Linked DNA regions of Homo sapiens: region 2 is linked to region 1. The links are contacts of gene promoters, found by promoter capture Hi-C in blood cells and fetal thymus (Javierre and others, 2016). All regions are on one chromosome and are shown on one strand. The core of a region is centred on a gene start or on the middle of the fragment in contact, and the rest is flanking DNA. Distances in the headings are between cores, read along the strand shown. Region 1 holds the start of DENND1A (DENN domain containing 1A). Region 2 holds the start of STRBP (spermatid perinuclear RNA binding protein).

Region 1 (6,861 bases), core at 2,270-4,769:
AAGGCCTGCGTAAACCATATAATTTGCCTTAGAAATTTATAAAATATAAAACTTTTCTTCCTCAAGGGTTTTTTTTTTAACTCGATAAACACTCAACTCGGTCTTAATTAGAATCTTAATATAGATCCTAATGTATTTCTTAAATGCGTTCCATGAACTCTTCTCAAACAACCATGTGCCAGGCATTGAGTCTGACACAGGGAACTCAAAGATAAATAAGACAGTCCTTCCTCTCAAGAAGTTTATGTCCAGCATGGTACGGGACACAGACAAGAAACGAGATTCAGTATTGTGACTGCAATAAACACAAGGGGCCACAGAAACACGGATGAAGGGCACCTGGCCTAGACTGGAACAGGAGGGGGTGGGGGTGGCAACAGGAAACTGGCATCAAGGCAGGCGTCTGGGGGATGGCATCTGATCTTAGGCCTATAAACTCCCATTCTCTCATTTGAAAAATGTGGTTAATAAATAGCATCGCCACCACTGGACAGTAGTGAGGGTTTCATGAAATGGTTCACATTAAGGATTTCCACGGTACCTGACAGAGATTGTGTTCAACCAGGCTTAAACTTAAAAGAGAAGTCTGATCAAACACGAAATCTCAACACCTGTGCCTAGCAACTCACGTGCTTTACCACTGATCACACAACAGACACCAGCTTCACAATTACACACAATATTGTTTTAAATCAACTTTTATTTTTTAATAATGAGACAATGTTAAGCCCTACTCTGCATGTTAACAGCCTAATTCCTTGGTCATTAAAATTTTCTTCTCCATTACCTTAAACATACCTTTCTCTGACATTTCTAATATACAGTAATGTTCTTAGTCTTTTGATACAGAAGGTGAAAAAAAAGAAAAAAACCTAACAATTACTGAGTTTTTAACATGGACCTGACATTTACATTGATACTGTGTTCAATGCTCATAATAACCCTACAACCTGGACACAGTCCTCCCCATTTTACCTTCAGGGAAACTGAGGTTGAAAAGGCAGTCTGTGTAAAGTTTCATAATTAGCATTAAAAAGAGCTGGAATTTGAACCTAGACCTGATTCCACCTAGTCAACTGACTTGCTGCATCAGAGATAAGCAAGAGAAAACAAAAGGAACCCCTCCCCCTTGTCCCTACCTCCAAGACTGTCCTATTCAATGGAACCTGCACACTTAGATTTCACCACAGCCAGGAGAACATCTTGAATGCCCTGCCAGGAGGGAAAGCCAGCCAGTAGTAACCAAAGCTCTGTCTTCTCCAACAACTAGAGGAGCACTTAAGTGGGTAATTTCCTGTCCATCCCCATTCCTAGCTACAGGCAGAAGTTGCATAATCAACAGTCACTATAAATCACAACTACTTTTCATAACTTCTCTCTTCATATTCTCTTTCGGTTTCACCACAAGCTAACATATTTCCCAAGCCTAAGTTTTTATCACAGAGTAGTCTAGTTTCAAGATCAATAAGGCTATTCTTCATACTCATTTCACGCTTAATACAATTCCATGCCTTAGTAAATTCCCTAACCCAAGTGCTCAGAATTAGCGATGGGTTCCACAAAACACATTTGAGAAATGTATTTGTCAACCTGCTACCTTGGAGAGCAACAGAGAGATTTGATGGCTAGCCATCTGAACTTTTACTTGCTGGATTTTAATACTGGTTCTGACACTCACTGCTTCATGTCAGGCAAGTTTCTGAACTTTTCTGTAACAAGAAGGGTAAGTGTCCTCACGCATACTCTGCAACTCTAAGTTGGCTTCTGGAAAGTGTTTCTAAGTGCTATTGAAATCCAAGTTTACAACTCTTACTTGGAAGCAGGAGCTAAACTTGAGTGCCTCTTTAATCCCAATGTTTCACAAACGACATCTTTTTACCTCCCAAGCCTCTCAAGCTCTTGTTTGGAGCATGCTTCTAACTTTTTTCTCATTTCCACAAAAATAAAGATTTAACAGAGTGTTCATGCGACTCTTCCATTTTCATTACCATAAGCAAACTTTTCTAGTTTCATTCAGCAGATGTCTCAAGGCTGCTGCAGCGCATCTCATACATATTTTGTAAATGAGAAGCCTAACCACACGGGGGACTGCAAGGCTGGGCAAGGGTCACACTGCACGGGCATCACCTGGACATGAGATGCAATGTTTGAATAATTATTAGTTTCACCCTTAAGGCCCTTCTCCTTTCAAACTTCCCTAGTACAATTCTCAAAATGCTGAAATAAACACATTCCACAAACTTTCTTGTAAGAGGGTTTAAAGTGTCCTAGGAAAGTTGTTTTACAGAAAAGCCTATGCTGTCAACTTTGCTTTTTAATGCCCTTAAACAATTCTATTAGTCACAGAGGAAAAAGTGAACATTTGTTAGTAATTAGAGATAAAACATCTCCAGTTCTGGGGCAGAGGAAGGGAGAGGCCACAAGAGGACCTGGCTGGGAGGGGAGATAGAGTCGAAAGCCACACACCCAAATTGGACCGCTTAAGAGTTGCACTTTCCAAAGTCAACTTCTAAGTCTACAAGGACAGCAACAATGTTTCAGTGGATTCTGAAGTTACATGTATCAACAATTTCCCCGGAAAGCTAACCCTCCACCGGGAACTCCAGGTGAATGAATGAGTGAGGGAATTCGCCAGATTGAGTTACAAAGCCTTTCCAACGATTATCAAGAGCAGGTGCTCGGTTACAACACAGAGGTATCCTCCTTCACAGCCTTTGGACCTTGCTGCGTGGAGATTTTCACAGATAAGAGGGGGGAAATAGAGAGACAGGCCTTCCTCCCCGGCCATCCACACCTTAGGTGGCCACACCATGAGCGGCCCCTCCCTCTAAGAACCTCACGCGACTTCTGTGGGGGCCGCAGGCCTCAAGCGGCCAGGCTGCAACCTCTCCGGACCTGCCAACTTTCAGGGGCGCCCCAAACATGCCCAAACATGGGGAGGTGCTTCCGGGGCTTTCCCACTCCCCTTCCCCACAGTTGAAGGACCATTTTCAGGGGCTCTCCGTAAACCCGGGGAGGGGGCCGCCCTGTAATCTCAGCTGTTCCGACCCCCAGGTGAGGAGGGGACACCTGACCCCCGGCGCCCTGCCACCCCGCGCGCACCCCGCCCCCGCGCCTCCCTGGATCGCCATAGCAACCGTCCCCCTCCCCGCGTGCCGGCGTCACGCGGGGCGCCCCTCTGGTCTCGGCAACAAGTCCCCCGCGCGGCCCGCGGCCTGCAGCCCTGGCCCGGCCTCGCCGCCCCGCGCCCGGCCCGGCTCCGCCCGGCCCGGCCGCACTCACTTGATCCTGGAGCCCATGGTCCCCAGGCCTCCTCATGGGCCCGCGGGCCCCGCTCGGCGCTGCGCTGCCCGCCCGCCCGCGGCCGACCGGCCTCCCTCTGGCGCTCTCCCCGCCCCTTCCTCCCTTCCCTCAGGCTGGGGCCCGCCCGCTCGAGGCTCGCTCCCTCGCCGCCGCCGCCGCCTCCAGGGGTTAATGTACTCGCTCCAGCCCGGCGAACGCCATGGTCGCCGGCGCGCGTGCCCGGCGCGCGCCGCCCCCTCCGCCTCTCACCACCGCCCCTCCCGCCCGCGCTGCCGCCGCCGCTGCCCGCTGGGGCTGCTGGGAAGTGTAGTCCGCTCGCGGGGGCGGGGCCGTGGCCGGTGGGGGCGGGGCGGGAGCGCGGTCACCCGCACGTCTCCCAGGGCGCGGGCCCCGGAGGACTCTGGCGTTCCGTTGCAGGCCCTTACACATCTGCACCCCACTGCGCCCCGCTGGAAACCTCCACTCACAGCCGCCCTGAAGAGACCCTAATCCTCTCATGGAGACCCCAAGCCCTCCCGATGAAACCGCCACCAATCCTCCCATTGGAGGCCTCCCACCCAGCCTCTCTAACGGAGAGCTAATCCCCCGCCCAGGCCTCCATGAAAACACGTTTTCCCTTTAACATCCCGCACCTTCCAGTAAGTTCCGTGCAGAACCTCTTCTCCATCACACCGTCCACTTCCCCATCTGAAGGCCTTTCCTCTTCCTTTCCCCTTAGAGCTTGAAGGAGACCCCACATACCTACAGGAAAGCCACCTGGGGGCTTCGTGGACCCACGTGGTGGCTCAGCTCTGCCCTCCCGCTGAGGACCTCTGCCTCCCTTTATCAGCCGTTTTGGGAACTCCAACATCGAAGCCTCCTGTTAACACAACAGTCCCTGATAGAGATTAACTCAATGCAAATGAAAGGATTTGAGAGCCGAGATCACCAGCCTGCTACCTACCCCTGCTCCCCCTTGGGATTCACTTCCATGAACACCTCAATTTCATCCCCTCTAGGGCCAGAGGGATCATAAAGGAAGCAATAATCACAGCTACCATTAGCCACCCTTTAATGAGCGGGTGAGTGCCCTTTCTGCATCAGACACAGTATTTCCGTACATCATTAGTGCCAATCCTCACAATAATCCTGTGTTCATCTCCCTAATTTACAAAGAGGAAACTGAGCCACATTCCCAAGGTCACATAACTAGCAACGAGTGAAGAAGCCAAGATTAGTGTCCAGACTGAATCATTCCAGACACCTGTGACATAGTCATGCTTTAAGGTGGCACCTTTGGCCACAAGTCCAAAGACATTTTTAATATTAGGCTTTTTTTCCTTTTTTTTTTTTTTTTTCCAATTTTCTGTCCCGAAATGCCATTCATCACTTCTGCCATTTTAGTTCTTATAAATGCATGGAGTGCCTCCCCACCCTACCCCCACCCCATAGCCTCTACGTAACTGGTCCTGCGTCCTAGCTCCCGGCCAGGATGGGAGGAAAGAAAGCCAGAAGATAAGTCGTAGAAGACTTCTTCTGTTGGAGTCACCTTCTGAATAAAGATAGTTTCTCCCTTTTGCCTCTGCCTTTAGGTTGTTGAAGTCAAAGGGTAAACTTTTTAAAATGAAAACCAAAAAAAAAGTGAAAATGTCCAAACTGTCATTTTGAATTTAAAGTCTTATGCACCCAGACACCAATACCGACTTGTAAACACCCCCAGGAGCAAAGCTCTGCTAGACAGGCAGGAGCTCTGTGGTGTTTATTCACCTATGAAACTTCTCCAAGGAACAGTTGCTATCAAGATCTTCCCTGGAATGGGAGCCAGTTCAAAAGCTCTGAGCAGGAGACTATAAATAAAACAAAGTTATTGGTGGAGGGCAAAGCTGGCTGCTTTTCAAAGGAGGTTGTAGCCATCCTGGCCACAAATATGTCTGGGTGCCTGCTGGGTGGGGTGTGTGTGTGTGTGTGTGTGTGTGTGTGTGTGTGTGTGTGTGTTGGAGAGGGAGGTAGAAGGTGGGGATTATGTGTCTGCTCAGGTGGCCTCAGAGACAGCAGGGTGGTCTGAGGAGAGAGCACTGGACTGGGAGTTAGGAACGTGGCTTCTAATTCTGGCTTCAGCATTGACTGGCAGATTTTATGCAAATGATTAGACAAGTGTATGTTTTAGTTTCCTCCCCCGTAAAATGGGCAGAGAGAGTGATGAGAAGCTTCCATCATAAGAGCGAGTGTAACATAGGAGCAAAGAGCACAGGCTCTAGAACCAGACTGCCAGGGTTTAAATCTCAGCTCTACCTCTTACTAAATATATGGCCTTGGGTGAATTATTCCTTCTCTGTGTGTCTCAGGTTCTCTGTCTGTAAAATGGAAATGGTGATAATAATAGACCTATTTTAGTGAGTTGACACGAGGATTAAGTGAGTTAGTGACATTTATAAAGTATTTAAACAGTGATTATCACATATTAAGTACTCAAAAATTAAAAGCAACTATTATATACAAAACACTTAGCACCGTTTGGCTTTTATTATTAAAATTAATAAGGCAACCAGTGGCTGGGCATGGTGGCTCACACCTGTAATCCCAGCACTTTGGGAGGCCAAGGCGAGTGGATCACTTGAGGCCAGGAGTTCAAGACCAGCCTGACCACCAACATGGTGAAAACCCATCTCTACTAAAAAATAGAAAAAATTTAGCCGGGTGTGGTGGCAGGCGCCTGTGGTCCCAGCTACTCAAGAGGCTGAGGCAGGAGAATCGCTTGAACCCAGAAGGCAGAAGTTGTAGTGAGCCGAGATCACGCCACTGCACTCCAGCCTGGGCAACAGAGCAAGACTGTCTCAAAGGAAAAACAAAGGCCGGGCATGGTGGCTCATGCCTGTAATCCCAGGACTTTGGGAGGCTGAGGCGGGCAGATCATGAGGTCAGGAGATGGAGACCATCCTGGCTAACATGGTGAAACCCCATCTGTACTAAAAAAAAATACCAAAAATTAGCTGGGCGTGGTGGTGGGCACCTGTAGTCCCAGCTACATGGGAGCCTGAGGCAGGAGAATGGCGTGAACCCAGGAGGCGGATTTTGCAGTGAGCCGAGATCATGCCACTGCACTCCAGCCTGGGCGACAGAGCAAAACTCCGTCTCAAAAAAAAAAAAAAAAAAGTACCCAGCTCCGTGGCTTGTTCCTGTAGTGCCAGCTACTCAGGAGGCTGAGCCCAGGAGTTTAAGGCTGAGCCTAGGATTTTGAGGCTGCAGCACGCTATGATCATGCCCATGAATAGCCACTGCACTCCACCCTGAGCAACATAGCGAGGCCCCATCTCTGAAATAAATAAATACATTTTGTAAAACTGATCAACATAATAATAAAGAGTACCATGCTTGGATTCGGGAGACCTGAGTTCTCAGCCCAACTTGTTTGTTCACGTTCTGTATCAGTTAGAATTCAATTCAACTGTAAATGATAGAGAAGTGAAATAACAATTGTTGAAAAAAATAGAATTTTATTTCTCTTTCACATAAAGTCTGGCGATTAACATTCCAGAGCTGGTATGACAATTCTATAATTAATGGAGACCCAGAATTCTA
Region 2 (7,131 bases), core at 2,850-5,349, 660 kb before region 1:
AAAACCACAGGGGAGAAAAAAGAAACTAAGTAACATCTATCCCCGTATTTACGTAGCTCCAGTCTTCCCGAAAGACTTAAACTTGTTTTATATAAACCACCTTGATTCTCATGGGAGATGGATAGAGTCAGATTTCTAGAGAAGAAACCAGCACAAAGGGATTAAATATCTTGTCCAGCAAGTCACCAGCGAAAATAAAACCAGAACCCAATTATTCAGCCTACAAAGCCTAAATAACCTGCTTTCCTTGGTTCGTAAACTTAGGATATCTAAAGTGCCTACAAATTGTCCCAATTCATAGAATTTCACTGAACAATACATATAATCCGAACACTATACCAGAATTGAGTATTCTGAGCAAGAAAGTAGTGCGCACCCCAAGTCAATAAAATGAACACAATGGACTTAAGAAATATAAGGAGGAAACAATGGCTATGTTGGAGAGAACTTTCAAAGCTCACTCTATTCATCTTATATCCTACTGCTCAAATTCTCTGCCAAAAAGCAAATGAGGTCAGACATGCTCCCTATATTATATTGTATACATATATCAAATCTCAAAATACTCAGAGTTTCAATCGAAGGGACATTATACTCTAAAAATCTTTCCCTCCAAAAATAAAATCTTACAGTAATGCCTTCAGAGCATTCTTTTGCTGCCATGACACACTTCAAATTTGGATTTTACGAATCATTTGCTTCCAGGTTTTTTTTTTAATATTTATATTAACGGATTCCGATTACTTAAAATTTGGTGTTCTGCTCCGCCCTCATTATGTTTAGGCAAGATTCCCACTTCCACTCAAACTTATTATTCGAACATACAATGGCTGCATTAAGATACTTCCTAAATCGACAAAAGAAGAAAACTAATCAACCCAGAAAGCTCCCAAGCTACCAAAGCGAACCTTTTATTTGAAATCATACTAGGTACCACACTACACATTACGTGAAGCCCACAGAGTGATAATTGAAGTTATTTCTGCAACATGATGAAATTTATTTCTTAGCAAAATCTGACAAGACTTAATTTTCAACTGTCAAAAGGGAAATCGTTTTCCAAGATTCTAGGAAACCTTGCTTACTGAAGCAGTCTCAAAGTAGTTTGCTTAATCCTTTCAAACCCCTAAGAATCTAACACAAGCCACAGAACAGTGAATGAGACTTGCACTGAAATAAATGTCTGTGTTCAAACCCCTAAAGGTTACTTCCCATGTGTTTGGCAAGCTGAAGGCCATATGTCCGCCCAACCCATAAGTGTCTTTCCTCAATAAAGCTAACATTACACTTCCCAACTCAAATCAAAATACCAGAGAATCCAAAAGCCTCCAACTAAATTTTACCTGAACCATTTGGGAGAAAAAGTCAACAATCCAGATCAGTTATTCACGCCTTGAAAGAGTGTTAAGAGTCAGAAAGCTCCAATTCTGCCACTTTTAGGAGCTAGGTGTACATTACTTCTGTCTGCCTATAGCATGGGACTCAGATATTACATCACCCCATGCTGCCTGAATACTGACCCATTACCCAGAAAGCACCAGGGTATCTGAGACACTGCACCAAGGTATCCCTTTCTTCCTCTCTTATGCATAGCCCTTGAATGCTACTGGCCACTGGGCCTGGTCTCTTCCAGTTTCACAAAGACATCTGCCCTGCACCTGCTGCAATCCCATTTCCATTCACTCTTGGTGCGCTCCTCGTGACCCTGTGTGGCCCTTCTGTCCACTCGTCAAACCAATATGCTAGGATGATACCCACTACACACCTCTCCCAAATTTGGGGATGTGCACTCAGCTCTCCCTTACCCCTTCCCCCTTCCTCATTTACTGGGTTCTGGAATTAAAAGCAGGCTCAACGATCTCTCTGACCCTAGGAGTATGAACTTTCAGATATGACACTGAGTTTAATGTCCTCCACTTTCCATTAACATCATTCCAGGATCCAGGTCCCCCCACCCCTCAATCTCCAGTTTCTCTCAGTATGGAATTTAATCCTCTCCATTTAGTTATTTTTCCAACTTCTGCACTCTGCCTGATCTTCCTTAGACTCTCAGTGACCTAAAAATCTTGGCCCCTTTCATCTCTCAAACTCAAAGTGTTCCAATCTCTCCCCATACTTCCACTCCTTGGATCTTCCATACTCTCTTAAGCAACCTGTGTTCCTAGCTCTCTCCAACTTAAGCAGTCATTTCCTGCCCTAAACCTGGGCATCCTATTTCCCCCACCACCACCACCACCACTCCAATCCATCACCTATGCCTTTCTAGTTACAGACATGTCCACATACACCTCTGCCTTGCCCTTCCCTTACTCCACTATAGGTATTAAGCATTCTTCTACATCCTCTACCCCAAAATAGCCTGTCTACCTTCCTTCTTTCTCCCTACCTCCCTTCTCCCTACAGCACAAAATTCAGTGCCCCAAACCTGTGCTTCCCTCCCTCCACCTACTGTACTCCAGACCTGTCCACCTTCCCCTCCAGTCTATCCCGTTGTCCCCCTCTACTGATTTCGTTCTCACCCTCCCCTCCACCTTCCTCCTCCCCAACCGCTCCACACTTCCCGCCTCAGAAATCTTTCCTTCCATTTGTCCCCACACTTTACCTGCCACTCCAAGAACACTTCCCTTTCCCCACCCCCTTTTGCCCTCCACCTCACACACTCCACGCCACCCCACACCTGTCCCTCTCCCCCAGCTCCTGCCCCTAACGTCCTCCAACACTTGCCAAGAACCCCTCACCCTCCGTCCTACCTCAAAATTCCCTCTCTTGCTGATCCCACCTTCTTCCATACTTCCTGCATAAACACCCTCCATTTCACGCACTTCTCCCGCTATCCTTTAAATGCCCCACACACCTCCTGCTCTCCATCCCCATCACCCTTCTCCTACTGTCCCCACCTCTCTCTGCAAGCCCTCAAACTAAGTCTCTGCCCCAATGAACTTCCCCCTTCCACCCCATACTCCTCTTCCCTGAGCACCAGATACCTGCCTTTTTATCCTTACATGTCAACCCCCTCCCGCCTCCCTGCAGGCTCCCCTATACACCTGGCCACACACTCCCTCACACCCCTCGCAGGTCTCCTGGAGCCCCTGGGCCTACCCTTCATTTCCCTATCACCCCAGAAGCCTAGGCACCCTGCTCCCCTCCCTCCCTTTCAGGCGCTCCCTGCCTGCCCTCACTTCCCCCTGCCCCGACCCCCTCCTCCATCGTTCCCCTTCACGGGCGTCCCGGTGGCCTTCCTAATACCCGCCCCACTCCCTGCCCCTGGCACGCAGCGCTCCTTCCAGTCCTGCTCGAGTCCCCAGTCTTCTCCCTCCATTCCCACCCCACTCGTCCCTGCCCTCCCCAAAAGCCCCCTCATTCCCTCTTGAACCCCACAATATAGTGCCCCCCCCCACCGGACGGAATGTCCTCCATCTCGCACTCGCCTGGCCCAGGGGGCCCCCCAAACCTGCCTGAAGGCTCTCCTCCTCCATTGGGCCGGATCCCTCTGCACCCCTATTTACCCCCAAATCTGCCCACACCTTCCGCCTGCCCCCCGAAGCCTCTCCCCAGCTCCTGCCCCCAATGTCCTCCAACACCTGCCCCGAGCCCCGAGCCCTCCGTCCCGGAAGACCTCCCGGCACCGCGTCCCCCAACCCTGCCCACGCCCTCCCCTGATCGGCCGGGACCCCGTCCCCGCGAAGGTGAGGAAGGCTGCCCGCTGCCCTTGCCCGAAGCGGCCGGGGCACCGCAGCGGCGGCGGCGGCGGCCACAATGCCGGAGCCGCGGGGCCGGGATTGCTCCCTGCTCTCCGCCTCGGCCGCCACCGCCGCCGCCGCTGCTAAGGACGCACAACAAACAATGCGGGGCCCGGGCCGGCTCCGCCAACCGCCTCAACCGCCGCCTTAACCGCCGCCCGCCCGGGACGGCCCGCCGCGCAGGCGCCCGCCCCGCCGCCGGAGCCTACCCGCGCCGCCGCGCTCTGCCCGCGCCCGGTACCCGCTCCCGCTCCGCCGCCGCCGCCACCTCGCCCGCTCGCGTCTCCGGCTCCTCTGCCCAGCGGCGGCGGCTGCGGCGGCTGCTGCCCTGGTGGCGCTCGCGGCTCCGGTCTCCGCTTCGGCGGCGGCAGCGGCGGCAGCGAGCACGTGACACCGTCGAGCGCGCCCATTGGCCAGGCCAGGGGGCGGGCCCCGCGGCTGCTGGGGAACGGAAAGCCCGCCCCCTCGTTCGCCGCGCGCCCCCTCCACGCGCGTCCTGCCGCACCTGAGAGCGCCGGCCAGCGCCCGCCGCCGCCTTGCTGTGCCGCCGCCTGCGCCAAGTGCGCACCTGGGAGCGCGCAGGGAGCACTCGCCGCCGGCGGCCTTATGCACCTGCCAGCGGACGCTTACGTAAACTGCGTCCCCGCCTTCCTCCCGGCCCCAGGCCCCCGCTCGCTGCAGCACCTGAGCCCCGCTGCGCTAGCGGCGTAACTGCGGCGGAGCGGAGACGAGCTGCGCTGGGAGGCTAGCGAAATGCACGGAAACTTCGTAACTTCCGAACCTGGGAGCTGCGCCGAGCCGCGGCGGCTAGCCGCCTTCCCCGGGCCCCGCACCCCAGTGCGGGATGCCCCCCAACCCCAGCAGCCACACAAATGGAGTAGGCGTCGCACTGCCTCCCGAGGTAGAGGGGCAGGCCAGTAGGCTTTGACTTGTGCCACCGCCCACCTACTTGCTGGCTGTGTGACCTTGGCCAAGTTACCAAGAACCGTTCTGAGCCTCAGTTTCCTCATCAGGAAAACTGGGACAATAATTCCAATTTAGGAGCTGTTGGGGAGATGGCATAAGACAATAGGTGTGAATCCTGGCACACAGCAGTCGCTGAACAGAAGCTGCTACAATCACCTCTCCTTCACCTGCCTATAATGAACCTCGCTGGGATTGAGTTTGGGCCCAGGACCTCTCTGACCTCCTTATGGTTGGGTCAGACTTTGGCTGAACACCTACCAGCTCTGTGCCAGGGGCGGCGCTGGGGAAGAATTAAAGGTTCGCTTTCTATTCTACAGTCCCTGGCCTCAAGTTCTTGGTGCCCAGCATTCTGCTTGCCAGTATACAGTCCCTGCTGTATACCGGGGGGTTTGCAGGCTGCAGGGATGCACTGGCAAATGAGACAATGTCTTTGCCCTAAGACAATTCCCAGCCTGGAGCAGAAACGACCTGACCACTCAGTGCCAAGACAGAGGACCTTGAACAGCCCAGGGGTTGAGGAGGGACTCCCCACAACAGCCCCCTTGGGGCCCCTTTTCATCTTTCTAACACACCAGGCTCAAATATTTTAACAGCTCTGTTTCATTCACAGAATAAAGTGTAAAAAACCCAATTTCAACTGAAAAGGCCTTGGTGATCTGGCCTTAAGCTTCAAGGTGCACGCCCTTCCCTTTGCCCCTCCTTCAGGCCAATGTGACCCTCCAGCCACACAGAACTACAGTACTGTTGTTTCCAGAGTATGCCCAGGTGTGTAGGAGCCTGAGTCTCCTGAGACAGATGCCAGGCCGCAAATCCCTTTCTAAACCCTCTCCCCACCTCTGACCACTCACACCTTCCTTGACCCTCCTGAAAAAAATCCTGGGTATCCTTATCAATCAGCTCAGAGTATATTCTCTGGAGATCCTTGGCTGCCTCAGACACATGGTCTAAGCTCCCTCGGCTTGAACATAGTCCTGTTAAGCTATATGTATTCTCATGGCACTAGATTGTAATTGTTTAGCTGTCTGTCTCCTCCCTGGTCTCTCAGTCCCTTGAGGACAGGGTCATCTTCCTGCCTAAGTGTGTTAGGGAAGACTACACGTGCACATGACATGAGATCATTAAAGCTGGGTTTTGTAGGATGCCCATAAGTATCAGAGGGAGAAGAGGCGCCACACTGTAAAGATCCAGATTCACTGCACACTAGCTGTGTGATCTTGGAAAATCAATCTCTCTAGTCTAAGTTTACTCATCTGCCAAGTGAGACTAATAGTATTGCATATTGTAGGGTTGTTAGAAGGATTCATTGCAACCGTATATCTAAGGCACTCAGCACGGTGTCCAGCACTTGGTTACATTTTTAATTTTTTTAAAATAGAAGAACAGCATGGCATTAAGGATTCAATAGTATTTCTTGTTTCAATATCTTTATTGGGTTTGTAACTCCAAACACTGAGACAAAAGCATGCAAATTATATAAAAGGAAAGAAAGTAAAAAGTTAGGCCAGACGCAGTGGCTCACGCTGGTAATCCTAGCACTTTTGGGAGGCCGAGGCGTGTGGATCACCTGAGGTCAGGAGTTCAAGACCAGCCTGGCCAATGGGGCAAAACCCCATCTCTACTAAAAATACGAAAATTAGCCGGACGTGTTGGTGTGTACCTGTAATCCTAGCTACTCGGGAGGCTGAGGCAGGAGAATCGCTTGAACCCGGGGGGCAGAGGTTGCAATGAGCCGAGATCCCGTGATTGCACTCTAGCCTGGACAACAAGAGCGAAACTCCGTCTCAAAAAAAAAGTTAATGTCTCTCTCCCTTCCTGCCCTTGACTCCACTCCCACTACCCCAATCCCAACTCCAGAGTAGTTACTGTTAATTTTTCATGTCCCTCATTACATGTCCAAAGAAAAAAGAAAGTTGCAGAAAATTATTTATCTGTAATGTGTATGTTGGATTCTCCATAGAAAAACGTCAGAAAGGATTAAACACCAACCACTATTGGTTATGCCTGGAAGATAGAACTGGGTGTGGGGATGGAGGACTTAAAAATTTCTGCATTGTTTTAATTTTTTAAGGATACATATGCAGATTTTTGTTTTGCTTTGTTTTTGAGAGGGGTCTTGCTCTGTCGCCCAGGCTGTAGTGCAGTGGCGCAATCTTGGCTCACTGTAACCTCTGCCTCCTGGGTTCAAGTGATACTCTTGCCTCAGCTTCCTGAGTAGCTGAGATTACAGGCGCCTGCCACCATGCCTGGCTAATTTTTGTATTTTAGTAGAGATGAGGTTTCACCATGTTGGTCAGGCTAGTCTTGAACTCCTGACTTCAAATGATCTGCCCGCCTCGGCCTCCCAAAGTGTTGAGATTACAGGCGTGAACCACCGTGCCCAGCCTGTTTTGTTTTGAGACAGAGTCTCACTCTGTCACCCAGTCTG

What was found. The method cuts DNA at HindIII sites, captures the fragments that hold promoters and counts their contacts. A CHiCAGO score of 5 or more calls a contact.
Region 2: a contact is called between the fragment with the promoter of STRBP here and the fragment with the promoter of DENND1A in region 1, in 4 of 17 cell types (total CD8 T cells, M0 macrophages, activated CD4 T cells and 1 more). The highest score is 8.9, in total CD8 T cells.

Annotation. Positions count from the first base shown.
Region 1 is chr9:123,926,607-123,933,467 of GRCh38, forward strand. DENND1A (DENN domain containing 1A) reads right to left here and starts at 3,520. Exons shown (of 24, transcript NM_001352964.2): 1 at 3,283-3,520. The coding sequence starts at 3,299. RefSeq lists enhancers at 1,277-1,326, 2,377-2,456, 2,392-3,077, 2,707-2,906 and a silencer at 3,257-3,746. The HindIII fragment of the contact is 11,751 bases long and covers 1-5,487 here.
Region 2 is chr9:123,264,487-123,271,617 of GRCh38, forward strand. STRBP (spermatid perinuclear RNA binding protein) reads right to left here and starts at 4,100. Exons shown (of 19, transcript NM_018387.5): 1 at 3,950-4,100. RefSeq lists silencers at 3,826-3,875, 4,046-4,525 and an enhancer at 3,926-4,426. The HindIII fragment of the contact is 5,570 bases long and covers 1-5,371 here.